Linked DNA regions of Homo sapiens: region 2 is linked to region 1. The links are contacts of gene promoters, found by promoter capture Hi-C in blood cells and fetal thymus (Javierre and others, 2016). All regions are on one chromosome and are shown on one strand. The core of a region is centred on a gene start or on the middle of the fragment in contact, and the rest is flanking DNA. Distances in the headings are between cores, read along the strand shown.

Region 1 (7,049 bases), core at 2,919-5,418:
TTTTAATTCGCCTTTATACCCAGGTGTTGGAGTGAATGTGTTGATCTGATGACTTCTATGAGCATATAAATGAGAATACTTAATGAAACACCTGGATGAAAAAAGAAATAAAGTAGTGAGGATAACATATTGTTAATAACCACAATCTCATATTGACATTTCTGTTATTACTGAGATTTCAGATTCTGGGTTAAATGCTCTGCTCTTTGGAATATCCACGATGGTTATTGATCTTGCTAATGGGTTCCTCTATGGCAGCATTTCTGGGTTTATGGTTGGAGGCACTCACGGATTCCAGAATGCATGAGTCTGACACGGTCTTCATCAAACCATATTCTTGGCAAATAATAAACTCCTTTAAGGATTTCAGGGAAGAGCCAAGCTCTGGGAGAGAGGTATATAAGTGTAGAGTAAGAAGTTGAATTAAAACATTTTTAGTTGCATTTTGTCAGTAGACAAAACTGAATGTTTCAATTCTGAGAACCTGAGATTGTCCAGAAAAAAACAAAGTTCAGTGTATGGGACATGAGTGATCACAAAGTCAGAACCAGGTTATTTTGCATTTTTCACAGCAGCATTAACTGGGGGGGTGGGGGGAGGGGTCCCTGAAGTTCTGTATCTGAATGAGGCTGGGTTTTTGTTTCTGTTTTTTTTTTTTACTGACTCAGTGTTCACTGCAATTTGCAATAATCTCCCCTTCCCCCAAGTCTGAAGCCTTCCTTCCCCCCTATTCAAATTGTCTGCGTCATTCTCATAATGCTACTATTTGGGTACTCCTGAAGCCAAACCAATAAAAAATGCTAGGGGAGCTTTATATGAATTCAAACATGATGCCAAAGTCATCTCCAAAAAAGTTTATTAGCATGATTAAAAACATTTTCTTGAATAATAACAGAAAGAATTTCTAAACATGAAAGAATATCAGTGGCTATACCTTAAAACCAGTATTTGGAATTGAATGGACAGCTTTATTGCCAGTCTTCAAAAAACAATCCATTGATTGGTTCCATGAAGTCGTGACTATTGCTTTGTCTGGGAATGAGTCCCTACTGCAATTAAGTATAAAAAATATCTTCCATCATAATTGGAGTGTGACCTGCATTGGAGAGTGGCTCTGAGTAAAGAGTTGATAAAAATCCACAAAGAGTTGGGTTTTTGTCTTTTAAAAACATTCCTTTACACACTACAAAGAAATAATTAGTATTTTGGCTTTTTAAATTCCTACATGATATTTAGAATGGCGGTCCCCAAGGGTCCTCCCTTCACGTAATTGTGAACACAGACCCTCTTCCAAGGGCACATCCCGGAGGGTGCGGACTCTGAAGACTTCGACCTCCACGTGTTTATACTGGTTTGAGAACAAAGACAGCGTCATCCAGAACGTAGTAGTCATTATACATGTCGCCTTCACACAGGTATGGTAGTCTGGTGAAAGCTTCGATAACAAAACCAGCTTTTCTGAAAACTTCAGGCAGACTATTCACTTGTTCTTCCCAGTTCTGTCCTTTGATTTCCAAAATTTCTGATGGTTTCTCCCACTTGCCACCTACTAATACAAATAAGAACATTCAGTTAAATTCTTGAACAAACAAGTGATTTAAAGAGGGAAGCAGGGAGGAGCCATATCTACCAAGGACTTGGTACGTTCCAAGCCTGAGGGCTTCATGAGTTACCTCTTTTGTACTTCCCAGGTACTCTTTGAGACAGGTGGGCAGATAAAGAACAGACTCAGAAGGGGTGAAGAACTTGCCCACGCTTGCAAGGTTAATGAGTGTCAGTATGGAAATGTAAGCCCAGGTTTGTCTGGATCCAAGGCCCCACACTGTTATCTTCTCTGACAGTTTTGGGTAGTATCTGCCAATAGACTGACTGCAGGGTGTAATGGTTAATGGGTTTGGAAAACTGGTCATTAAATGCTGGAATACTGAAACAGAGAGCAACATGTAATATCTGAAGGACAGTTTTGGACAAATGCAAGAAAATACCACTGGCATAGTAAACTTATGCAACTTACTACCTAGAGAGATTTATTAGGCTGAAAATAAAAACAGGCTCATGAAGGATTTTAATTTAGAAAAGCAGATCATTGGGGAGTTTTTCTAGGGAAGTTGACTCATTCTTTGCCTTTTCAGAACAATTTCATAAACATTAAGCTCCAGGACCAGAGAGAGATGGAACAGTAGGATGGATACACCGTCCAGCATTTCTTGGACTAGAGATGAAGCCTCTATCAGTCATTTCCAAACCTATGAGCAGGAGATGCCTGGGGGACAAGGGGACTAGGGAAGGTCCTCAAATTCACATACAAACCTGGCACTGACTACAGACACACACACAGAGATGACAGTATATTTAACTTTGGGGGTACTTTTTAGGTGCTATGGTGATACAAAAACTACATACATCTGTTGAAGTGTTAAAACCAGATTGAGGCCGGGCGTGGTGGCACATGCCTGTAATCCCAGCACTTTGGGAGGCCGAGGTGGGCGGATCACGAGGTCAGGAGATCAAGACCATCCTGACTAACACAGTGAAACCCCGTCTCTACTAAAAAAAATACAAAAAAATTAGCTGGGCATGGCAACATGCACCTGTAGTCCCAGCTACTTGGGAGGCTGAGGCAGGAGAATGGTGTGAACCCGGGAGGCGGAGCTTGCAGCGAGCCAAGATCGTGCCACTGCACTCCAGCCTGGGCGACAGAGCGAGACTCTGTCTCAAAAAAAAAAAAAAAAAAAAAAACAAAACAGACTGAGAATAACTTTCTGTTAATGAGAAAATATATCATGAGCAGATGCCAAGGGCACAGACATCATATCATGGTGGGGAGATTTTTCATAATTTTCAGTGGTGCAGATGACGCTCTTCCCATGTCTGGGGAATTGCCTGCCCAGAGTCTGGGAGAGACACAAGGCCTGGGAGCCGCTTTCCTGGCCTGCCGTGCAGCTGAGGCACTGGCACGCAGCCTAAGCCAGGCACACTTGCCCATGCCCTGGAATGGAGAGCCAGTGACCCAGAGTAGTGGGGATGTGAGCTTCTCCTTCTCTGGGGGTGGAGCAATGGCAGTGAGACCAAGGGGCTGGGGCAGTGGTTGAGCGATGCTGACAACAGGGCTGATGGCACCTAGTGTTTGGCAGTGGCAGTAGCATCCTCTTCAGACCTGTTTATGGTGTGATTTGAGGCATTCTTCCTGGCTGTGGACCCCACACAAGATTCACTAGCCCTCCCAGTGACTCTAGGATCTACCTTCAAATGTTTGCATAAATTTCCTTTTAAGTCAGCCTGAGTCTGTTTCTGCTGCTTTACAAAGAAGACCCTTACTGAATCACCACTAAGTGCTGGGGGAGAGGACACAGAGGACAGAGGGCCCACATATTTGTTTCTCAACACATTAAAAGGGGGTCTTTGGGCCAGGCATGGTGGCTCACACCTGTAATCCTAACACTTTGGGAGGCCAAGGCAGGGGGATCGCTTGAGGGCAGGACTAGCCTAGACAACACAGAATCTACAAAAAAAAAAAAAAATTAGCCAGGGGTGGTGGTGCATGCCTGTAGTCCCAGCTACTCAGGAAGCTGAGGCTGCAATGACCTGCAATCTTGCCACTGCATTCCAGCCTGGGTGATAGAGACCCTGTCAAAAAAGGGGGGAAGGCAGGTGTCTTTGGATTCAAAACTGGAGTACAAAAAGTTAATAACAGACAATTTATTTATTCGCTGCATTAGAATGTGTTGTTTACTAACTTTTCTCATCTCTACACAAAGCCACTTCTCCTTCTGCTGTTCTTTGTTCCCAGCAGTTACTGGCCCAGAGTGGCACCCAGAGCAGGTACCCTAGACAGTGACTGAACTGTTCTGAAAAATCCAAGTACGAATTATTTGTCAAACAATACTCCTTCCTGGAAATATGTGCTAGGTGTAAATCAAAATCTCACCCAGAAACATCTAACACCTATGACAACTGTAAAATCCATGGAAAAAAAAAAGATATGCACATTTCTAAATGTGCTCCAGGCCAAAATCTCAATGTTAAATGGTGAAGCCATCCTTGCACAATTTCAAAAAGTTCCTGATTATGGTTCCTTCATAAGAGGTTCCTCTCTTCAGCTCTTCTTCCCTTCTGAAAAAAGAAAGCCAACTTTCCTTTCAAATACACACCCCAACCCGCCCCGGCATACACAGAAATGGGGACTGCGAGCAGAAGCAACATCGCTCGCCATCTGCAAACCAATCTCATTCTATTTTGTGTCGGTAAGGTTCTTTTTCTTCTCCTCCTTCATTTTATTTAAATCAACTGCTATTTTTCACCTAATGCATTTATATTTTAAGCTCCTTCAGATTAATTTTTAAATGTATAACATTATGAAAACTGCCTAAGAGGATAAGTTTCCTTTTTCCCCTGAGAAATAGACAATAAAAAAATAGCTGAGAAAAAGTTTCATATTAACCTTGAAAAGTCTCTTTGCTATTATGCTAATTGGAGACAATCTGACCAAAGGGTTGAAAATATTCTTAAAATCGTAGGTATAAGTTATCAATAATTTAATTATCATACAAACTTGATCTGCACATAGAAAGCAATAAATGATTATTTGCTGAATATTTTCAAAGAACAATTTCTATAAAAGTACTTTTCATTTAAGAAAAAAAAAACTGCCATGACTCCAATAGCCATCCCATAGTATATCTATTTTTAAAATTCTGTCTACTTCTGTTTTTTTATCTATGAAAGAGAAAGGATTTCCAATACATCTAGTAATCTCAGATTTGCCCACACAATTTGGATTATAGGGCAGGGAAGGGGGGAAAGTTCTTAATTTTTTCTCATCTGTGAAGAAATATATCAAAATGTTAATGGGAGTTATTTCAGGCAAAAGGACTATGGGTGACTTTTTGCTTCTACTTTTAATAACCTGTTTTTTGCTAATAAGTATATATTACTTTCATAGACTATTTTAATTAGCATTATTTTAAAGAAGAATTCCTGTCTTTTAGAGATATATTCTGAAAGATGCAGATAAAATGGCTGGGATTTGCTCTAAAATAATATGGGAGTGAGGGAGTAGGTGGGAGGAGAAAAGAAACAAGATTGGGTCGAAGCCATGTGATGGCAGGGGGTTGACTGTACTACTTCGCTACTTTGATATGTTAGAAATTTGAAATCTAATATAATAAAGCTTTGGGCTGGGCGTGGTGGTTCATGCCTGTAATCCCAGCACTTTGGGGGCCAAGGTGAGAGGATCACTTGAGCTCAGGAGTTCAAGACCAGCATGAACAACATAATGAGACCCCCATTTCTACACAAGAAAAAAAAATAGCTGGGCGTGATGGCACCTGCACTGCACCTGCAGTCCCACCCACCTGGGAGGCTGAGGCAGGAGGATCACTTGAGCCCAGGACTTTCAGGCTATAGGGAGCTGTGATTGTGCCACTGCACTCCAGCCTGGGCAACAGAGCAAGACATTTACTTACTTCTTACTTACTAGATAGAGAGACAGCTTTGTTTAAATGTCAAGAATTAGTTCTCTTCCTACTTTCAATATGGCTTTTTTGTTTGTTTGAGACGGAGTCTCGCTCTGTCACCCAGGCTGGAGTGCAGTGGCAAGATCTCGGCTCACTGCAAGCTCCGCCTCCCGGGTTCACGCCATTCTCCTGCCTCAGCCTCCCGAGTAGCTGGGACTACAGGCATCTGCCACCACACCCGGCTAATTTTTTGTATTTTTAGTAGAGACAGCGTTTCACCGTGTTAGCCAGGATGGTCTCGATCTCCTGACCTCGTGATCCGCCCGCCTCGGCCTCCCATAATGCTGGGATTACAGGCATGAGCCACCATGCCCAGCCTCAATATGGTTTTTTAAAATAATAAGAATAATCTTTCTATTCCCTCCATGGAGGAAATAAATCTTCAACCTTTTCATTGGATACTGTGTTTAAAAAACAATTCCTAGAATATGAGGATTCTTAAAAGAAATCATTCACAGAAGCAGGCTGTGGTGTGACATATCCAAACTTCTCTTTTTTGTTAATAGGTTGCCTAACTGGTTGGGGGAGGGAACCACAGTTTCATCACAAGTTCCTGCTCACAGAGGAAATCATTACAATTGGTTTTCTCCCACACATAGCCTAATTGGGAAGAAGGTGGAAATAAGTAGAGATATGAAATTCCAAAGTTACAAATACCTGTTTTTATCCTATACTACTAGTTTTTAAAGAAAAGTGTTGAAAGTCAGCTATCCCCGCCACCCCAACCTCTATTTTTTTTTTTTTTTTTTTTGAGACAAGAGTCTCACTCTGTCACCCAGGCTAGAGTGCAGTGGCACAATCTCAGCTCACTGCAACCTCCACCTCCTACGTTCAAGCGATTCTCCTGCTTCAGCCTCCCAAGTAGCTGGGATTACAGGCGTCCACCACCACACCTGGCTAATTTTTTGTATTTTTAGTAAAGATGGGGTTTTACCATGTTGGCCAGGCTAGTCTCGAACGCCTGACCTCAGGTGATCTGCCCGCCTCGGCATCCCAAAGTGCTGGGATTACAGGCGTGAGCCACCATGCCCAGCCTCTATTCCTTTTATAGAGACAGGATCTCACAATGCTGCCCAGGCTGGAGTGCACGTCCAGACTCTATTCCTTTAATAGAGACAGGGACTCACAATGCTGCCCAGGCTGGAGTGCAGTGGTGCCATCACAGCTCACTGCAGCCTGGAATTCCTGGGCTCAATCAGCCTCCGGTCTCAGCCTCCTGAGTAGCTGTGACTAATGGCCACACCACCACGCCTGGCTCTTTGGCTTCCCTTTTAAAAACACTACCCAATTTGGAAGGCTGAGGCGAGTGGATTGCTTGAGCCCAGGAGTTTAAGACCAGGCTGGCCAACATCGCAAAACCCTGTCTCTACTAAAAATAAAAAAATTAGCCAGGCGTGGTGGTGCACACCTATAGTCTCAGCTACTCCAGAGGCTGCAGTGAGAGGATTGCTTGAGCCCAGAAGACAAAGGCTACAGTAAGTTAGCCAAGATCACACCACTGCATTCCAGTTTGGGCGACACAGTGGGACCCTA
Region 2 (7,049 bases), core at 2,480-4,979, 540 kb before region 1:
TCGAGAGGAAAGGAAGCCCCAGGACCGCCAGCTTCAAATGGTCCGAGGTTTGCGGCTCTGAGAGAACGAGACCAGAGTTCAACCGCAAGCCTTGGCATGGCCAGAGTGTAGAAGAGTAGAAGTTACCACGTGTTGTGTTTAGGCCAGTGGCGGCTTAGGCGGTGCTCCTCCAAATTCCCCCAGCTGTAGAGCAGAAACCCCCACCCTCCTCTGCTCTTTGGAATGAGACAAAGCCCCAGTTTTCGTCATCTATAAAAGGAGAGTAATAAACCCTATTTAAGAGTAGCTGTAAGAATTAAATAAGATCACATAGATGAAAGCTCTTTTACACTGTCAAGCATTAAACAGACATAGGATTATTATTCTTTCAAAAATTATATACACACATAAAATTCAGCCTAGCAGAGAGGAGCATACATTTTTTTTTAGCTCCTTCCCAAACTGCTCACCTTGTTCAGCAGAGTGGGACACACACTGCGGTGGCCATGTTGGTTCTGATGAGCCCTTTCGATCCCATCCACCTCAGGCTTGTGGTGCTTTTCTTCTCTGCCAGTCCCACGTGTGCATATTATGATCTATACATGGTTGTATTTACACACTGATGTCTTGGTACTTACAACTGATAACTGATACCAAGATGATAGGAGGCGAAGTTTCTGTGGAGAGCAGGGCTAGATAAAGAAGTTTCGTGACCTTAAACTTTAAAGATTATGGTGATTACCACTACCTCTAATTAATAAATAGAAACAGTACTAAATCATAAAATATAACCAACTAAACTCTATTTTTCCCATTATAGCTTTATTGGTACTTCATCGAGACATCCAATTATTTTAAGAGTTTTTTTTTTTAAATTTTTCATGCTCTTTCTGGTACTAAAACCTGTGCTTACTATGCTGTCATCCTCAGACAGGAACCCAAAAAGGCCAAGTCGGGCTCGGCAGAAGCTTGAGTCTCGGTTTTTCCCCAAACCCTGGCTGTCAACACACAGATCTGTGTGAATGAGAAGCCCAGAACATTGGGTCGGGGTGGATCGAATGCAATGTTACCAGACAGAGCAGCAGCCGACGGCGCAAACTCATACCAACGTCACCCGAGCCTGCGTTAGCCCATAGCGACGCGGCAGCCTGGTTCCGGGGAGAACCTACCCGGGAGGCGGAGCTGGAAAGGGGTGAAGCCAGAGAGGGAGGGGGCGGGGCCAGGACTCAATTACACGCGAGAAGGGCGGGACCGGGTCCAGAGGCAGGAGCAAGGACAGACCCAAAAGGAGAAGCCAAAGGGTGGGCTCAAGCGCGCGGGGAGGACCAGAAAGGGGGCGAAACCAGAATGAGGGAGAATCTGGGGGTGGGCCGGGACTGGGCAGGGACTAGGAGAAGGTCCAGAAGGCGGAGGAAGCTGTGAGCCTTGGCCCATATCAGAAACCGGACAGGCCGGAGGGAGGAAAAAAGGGGCAGGGCCAGGGCCTGGAGGGAGGGTCATGGACGTAGGAAAGATTCAGGGGGCGGGACAGAGGCGTGACCAGGACTCAGAAGGCGTGCCCAAACATGGAAGGGCGGGAAGGGGCGTGGCTATGACATGAAGGCGGGGTTAGGCCTGGAGAGCGGCTCAGGACTAGGCTCTGAAGTCAGGGGGCGGGGAAGAGGCGTGCCCAAGCCGTGAAGCAGGGGCGGGGTTATAAAACGGGGGCGGGGCTAGGTCTGGAGGTCTGCTCAGGGGCTAGGCCAGGAAATCAGTGAGCGGGGAAGAAGGCGTGCCCAATTTGAAGGGCGGGTCAAGGGCGTGGTCAAAACATGGAAAGAGACTCGGGGCTACGCGTCTGGGCCGACCAGGGACGTGGCCAGGATTCAGGGGGCGGAGCAGGAGCGTGCCCACTTCGGAGGGCGGGGCGGGACAGGACAGGGGCGGGGCCAAAACACAGGAAGGGCGCAAGGCAAGGTCTGGGAGTAGATAGGGGCGTGGCCAGAAGTCGGCGGTCCGGGCTAGGTCTGGAGAGCGGCTCGGGGGCGTGACCAGGATTCAAGGGGCGGAGCGGAGGCGCGCTCAAACCCAGAAGGCGGGGCAGGGGCTGGTACAAGCCCAGGGAGCCGGGCGTGGGCGAGGGTGCAGCGGGGCCGACCCTAGCGGGCGGCGGACGGCGGACGGTCACAGGCGCTCCACGGCGGCGTGCAGAGGCTGCAGGCCTAGGAAGTGCAGGGCCAGGGCGAGCAAGCCGAGGAACAGCAGCAGCCTGAGCAGCAGGCGCAGGAGGGTCCGCGCCGTGGAGCCGCGGGGCCGCCGGGTCGTGGACTGCACGTATAGCTCCACGGCGTCGGCGAACCTAAACTTATCCGGCGCGTAGCCGAGCTGGGCGCGGGCCTTGGCTATCTGGAAGGTGTGCGTCACGGCCACGCTGCGCACCTGCGGGGACAGGCGGGGCATCCGAGGGCGGGCCTCGTGGGAGGAGGACATCCTCTACTTCGTTGTTTACGGAAAGGGAAAAGAGAGGGCAGGGATTTCCCCTCCATTACATAGTGATTTAAAAGGACCCGAGTGCAGCGTCTTGCTCCTGCGATGCCCTCATTAGAGAGGTCTTCCTTTCTTCCTTACATGTTCATTTTTATTGGAGGGTGCCGCCTTTGCGTCGCCCCCTCCAGCCCCGCTGAATTCGCACCCTATTTAACTCCTTGGTCCCTAAGAAGCAAAGGTCTCACCCCTACACTCATCTTCCCGGCCTAGCACGGTGCTGGGACTCAGGAGGCCCTTGATACATTCTTAGGCATCCGCTAGGAGAAGGTGAACGCCTGCCAGAAACATCTGCAGGAAACGACCTTGGCTTCCTGCCCCCAACCCCAGACCAACTGTGACCAGGAGGGCCCCAGTCGCAGCCTTCATGCCCTCGCTTATTAACTAAGCTTCCCTAAGAGAGGAATTCGATTATGCAGAACTGATTGCTCTCCAGGGTCTAAGCTGTGTTTCCCCTGCTGCCAGATGGCTTGGGGCCCACTGGTTTGAAGGGTAGTAATGATAGCTATCAGCAGTTAAGGAACACACACCCTGCATTTGGCCTGGACTAAATCCTTTCTATGCCCTACCTCATTTAATCCTCTCAGGTGGTACTAGCACTATCTGTTCTGTGCATACTTGGAAAAAGGTCAGAGAGGTTGAGTGACTTGCCTGGGGTCGCACAGGGGAGCCAGGTTCTAGCCTAATTTCTTCTCTGCTGTGCTGGCACCTGGAGATGTTCTCCCACCTGACTCATTTCTTCCTCTCTTTTTCCTCAGCCGGACCCTGGGGAAGAATCCACCAGCTGCTGGATTCTCCCATGGCATTGAAACAGCCCCTGGGGTCAAACCTGTGGTCTTGGATGCTTAATGGGGGGTGAGGAGAGAGGCCAGTATTTGTCCCTTTTTTTCCTAGTCAGTAAGTGCAGGGCTTTGGGGAGCACAGGAGTTGAGTTACGCTAGATAAGCAGGGTCCCTAATACACCTAGATGTCTCTAGATGTCACCTCTGGGAAGCTTTCTCTGACTTCCTCAGAGTTGGCTGAGGCGCCCCTTCTGTGTGCACTGGAGTTTCTCGCGATTTTCCCAAGAATGGCTCTAATTACAGTGTTGAGTTGCCTGGTTAGTGGGCTGTCTTCCCCTTTGAACTAGGAGCTCCCTAAGGGCAAGGACTATGTCTTCTTGCCTCCGTTGCTCAGCACAGTGCCTGGTAACATTTATGTTAAATGCATAAAAGGCTATAAAGTCAAACTGGAGGGCTGGTTGATGTGTCACAGATTGACCAGCAGAGGGTACCCGAGCCACAGCCAAGGAACTTCCACAGTTAAGGACATTGCCCCTGAGCTGAACAAGGAAATCCCCAAGTTAAACAAGAGGGAGAGGAGCCAAGTCCCTGCCTGACCACAATTCAGCTGCACCCTGGCAGCTATTTTATGTGGATGTGATTCCTGATGCATTTTCACAAGCTAATGGTTAAGCTTGAAATCACTGAGGTCTGGGTTCAAATCCCAGCTCTACCATTTAAGTGAGTGATCACGGGCAGGTTATTTCACTGTGTGTCTCATTTCCTCCTCTCTAAATGGAGAGGACAATGTTGTCTACAACTCAGTTAAATGAGATAAAGCACAGTGCCTGGCATACTGTCACAACTCAAGAGATTGTCAGTATCATCTTATTCTCTCCTCCACTGATCCGGATGGCTCAAAGGAGAAGCCATAGGTGACTACTTCTTTCTGTGGCCCATTCTCCACTCTCCCCCTCTGACTCCCCTTGTTAAAGAGCACTGAACATGGAGTCTGAAGCCAATTCCAGTATGGTGTGGCCTTGGACAAATAATTTTCCTAGTGCTCAATTTTTCATCATAAAATGGAGATCACGATTTTTTTTTGACCTTTTTAACTTAGCAGGGCATCAGAGACAATAAAACGAGAGTGGACTGGAAGTAATTTTTTTTTTTTTTTTAGATGGAGTCTTGTGCTGTCACCCAGGCTGGAGTACAATGGTGTGGTCTCAGCACACTGCAACCTCCACCTTCCAGGTTCAAGCGACTCTTCTGCCTCAGCATCCCGAGTAGCTGGGACTACAGGTATGTGCCACCACACCCAGCTAATTTTTGTATTTTTAGTAGAGACAGGATTTCACTGCGTTGGCCAGGCTGGTCTCAAACTCCTGACCTCAGGTTATCCACCCGCCTCAGCCTCCCAAAGTGCTGGGAACAAGTGTGAGCCACCGTGCCCGACTGGACTGGAAGGATTTTTGCAAATAACCTCAAATACCACCGATTACTTTGCTATTTACAATCTGTGATGAAAACATCCTCTCTTTTAACTAAGCAAATATAAACCTGCATCATCATTATTATGAGAATAGTATTCTGAGCCAGGCATGGTGGTGCATGCCTGTAATCTCAGCTATTTAGAAGGCTGAGGGGGGAGAATCTTTTTTTTTTTTTTTGGTTTTTAGGGGCAGGATCTCCATCTGTTGCCTAGGCTGGAGTACAGTGGTGCAATCTGCAGCCTTGAACTCCTGGGCTCAAGTAATCCCCCACCTGAGCTGGGACTAAAGGCATGCACCACCTTGCCTGGCTAATTTTAAAATTTTTTGTAGAGATGAGGTCTTGCTATGTTGCCCAGGCTGGTCTCAAACTCCTGGCCTCAAGTGATCCTCCTGTCTCAGCCTCCCAAAGCACTGGGATTATAGGTGCGAGCCACCACACCTGGCCAAGAGGATCTCTTGAGCTCAGGAGTTTGAAACCAGCCTGGACAATATAGTGAGACCCTGTCTCATAAAAATAATTATATTCTGTATGTAGTAGGTACTTAATATATACTCATTATTCAGTAAGCATGAACTATGAGCCTAGGACCACCAGGCTGTTGTGTGTGTGTATGTATGTGTTGAGAGTTGGTGGGATTGGTAGCATTCAAAGAAGTGAATGGCCTGAAACTTGCCTTTGGGAACCTCCAGTCTGGCTGGAAAGACAAGATGCTTATGAATGAAGAAACAGTGATGATGGATAGGCTTGGAGCTGTCACATTTCAGACCCAGAAAGCACAGCCTCAGCAAAAGCCCAGAGGTTGGGGTGATCATAACAGAGCTAGCACCAGCTTTGGGCCCACATGGAAAGTTCTGAGACTTCAGACAAGCATGTGTCATCATGGTGTCAAAGGGGTAAGGAGTGGCAGCAGTGGGGATGGTGGGGAGAGGTAGGAAGGGAGGGATGGGGAGCAGGGCCTAGGTCCCATAACAGCAGCCCACTTACCTCACTACGAGTGAGCAGCGGTGGGAGGCTGCAGATGGGTCTCAGGGCCAGATGGAGGCGCTCCATAACTGCTGCTGCAGGGAAGGAGGGGGCCAGTGACCAGGGGCCTCACATTATGCAAACTCCAGGGAGGCCCTTGGGGACAAATCAATGGGGGACACCATTTGCTTTGCTAGAGGTCACTTTGCAGAAGTCACTGGATTCCTTTAAATCAGCAGCCCTTGCTGGGGTGCCTTGTTTAGCTGTGAAATATGTCACAAGTAACTTGTTTTTAATATTAAATGACCAGGCTGGGTGCAGTGGCTCAAGCCTGTAATCCCAGCACTTTGGGAGGCTGAGGCGGGCGGATTGCCTGAGATCAGGAGTTCGAGACCAGGCTGGTCAACATGGTGAAACCCTGTCTCTACTACAAATACAAAAATTAGCCGGGCGTGGTGGCACATGCCTGTAATCCCAGCTACTGGGGAGGCTGAGGCAGGAGAATCGCTTGTACCCAGGACGCAGAGATTGCAGTGAGCTGAGATTGCACCACTGCACTCCAGGCTGGGCAACATAATAAGACTCCGTCAGAAAAAAAAAAAAAATTGAACGACTGAAGTTTTTAAATAAATCTGAACAGATTCAAAGTTATCCATATAATAATCTCTCTCTCACTTCTACTCCAATGCTCTCTGGAGTAGGAGAGAAAGAGGTTGGAGTAACAGTTCTCAAACTGGGCTGCATGTGGGACCAATTTAAAAATAATACTTGTGAGAACCAGGTGTGGTGGCTCATGCCTGTAATCCCAGCATAAGAGACTGAGGAGGGAGGATCTCTTGGAGCCAGGAGTTCAAGACCAGCCTAGACAACAAAGTGAGACGCCCTCATCTCTAAAAAATTTTTGAAAATAGCCAGGCATGGAGGTGCATGCCTGTTACCTCCACTACTCTGGAGGCTGAAGTGGGAGGATCGCTTCAGGCCAGGAGTTCGATACCAGCTGGGGTAACATAGCAAGACCCCCATCTCTACTAAAGTATAAAAATTAGCTGGGCCTGGTGGTAGGAGCCTGTAGTCCTAGAGGCTTGAGAGGCTGAGGCAGAGAATTGCTTGAGCCCAGGAGGTTGAGTCTGCAGTGAGTTATGATCATGCCACTGCACTCCAGCCTGGGTGGCAGTGCAAGACCCTAACTCTAAAAAAATAAAAAATACTGATGCTTTCCTCCCACTTCCTCCCTGCTAATCCCAATTTAATTGGTCGGTAGTGTGGCTGAGACATTTCTCTATTTTAAAAGCTCCCAGGTGACTGTGCAGTGCAGCCCTGGTTGAGAAG

What was found. The method cuts DNA at HindIII sites, captures the fragments that hold promoters and counts their contacts. A CHiCAGO score of 5 or more calls a contact.
Region 2: a fragment that was not itself captured here is called in contact with the fragment with the promoter of IGSF6 in region 1 in 14 of 17 cell types (M1 macrophages, total CD8 T cells, naive CD4 T cells and 11 more); the score reaches 11.3 in M1 macrophages.

What each region holds. Positions count from the first base shown.
Region 1 is chr16:21,649,727-21,656,775 of GRCh38, reverse strand. It overlaps IGSF6 (immunoglobulin superfamily member 6), which reads left to right and starts at 4,168. Exons shown (of 6, transcript NM_005849.4): 1 at 4,168-4,244. The coding sequence starts at 4,178. METTL9 (methyltransferase 9, His-X-His N1(pi)-histidine) reads right to left here. Exons shown (of 5, transcript NM_016025.5): 5 at 1-1,549. The coding sequence ends at 1,344. The HindIII fragment of the contact is 3,735 bases long and covers 1,438-5,172 here.
Region 2 is chr16:22,185,487-22,192,535 of GRCh38, reverse strand. It overlaps SDR42E2 (short chain dehydrogenase/reductase family 42E, member 2), which reads right to left. Exons shown (of 13, transcript NM_001394319.2): 12 at 5,742-5,815; 13 at 785-2,397. The coding sequence ends at 2,143. It overlaps LOC124903666 (a long non-coding RNA gene), which reads left to right and starts at 4,524. Exons shown (of 2, transcript XR_007065028.1): 1 at 4,524-4,565. RefSeq lists enhancers at 830-889, 1,390-1,469, 1,725-2,224, 6,807-7,049 and silencers at 1,930-2,029, 2,170-2,219, 2,310-2,399. The HindIII fragment of the contact is 461 bases long and covers 3,499-3,959 here.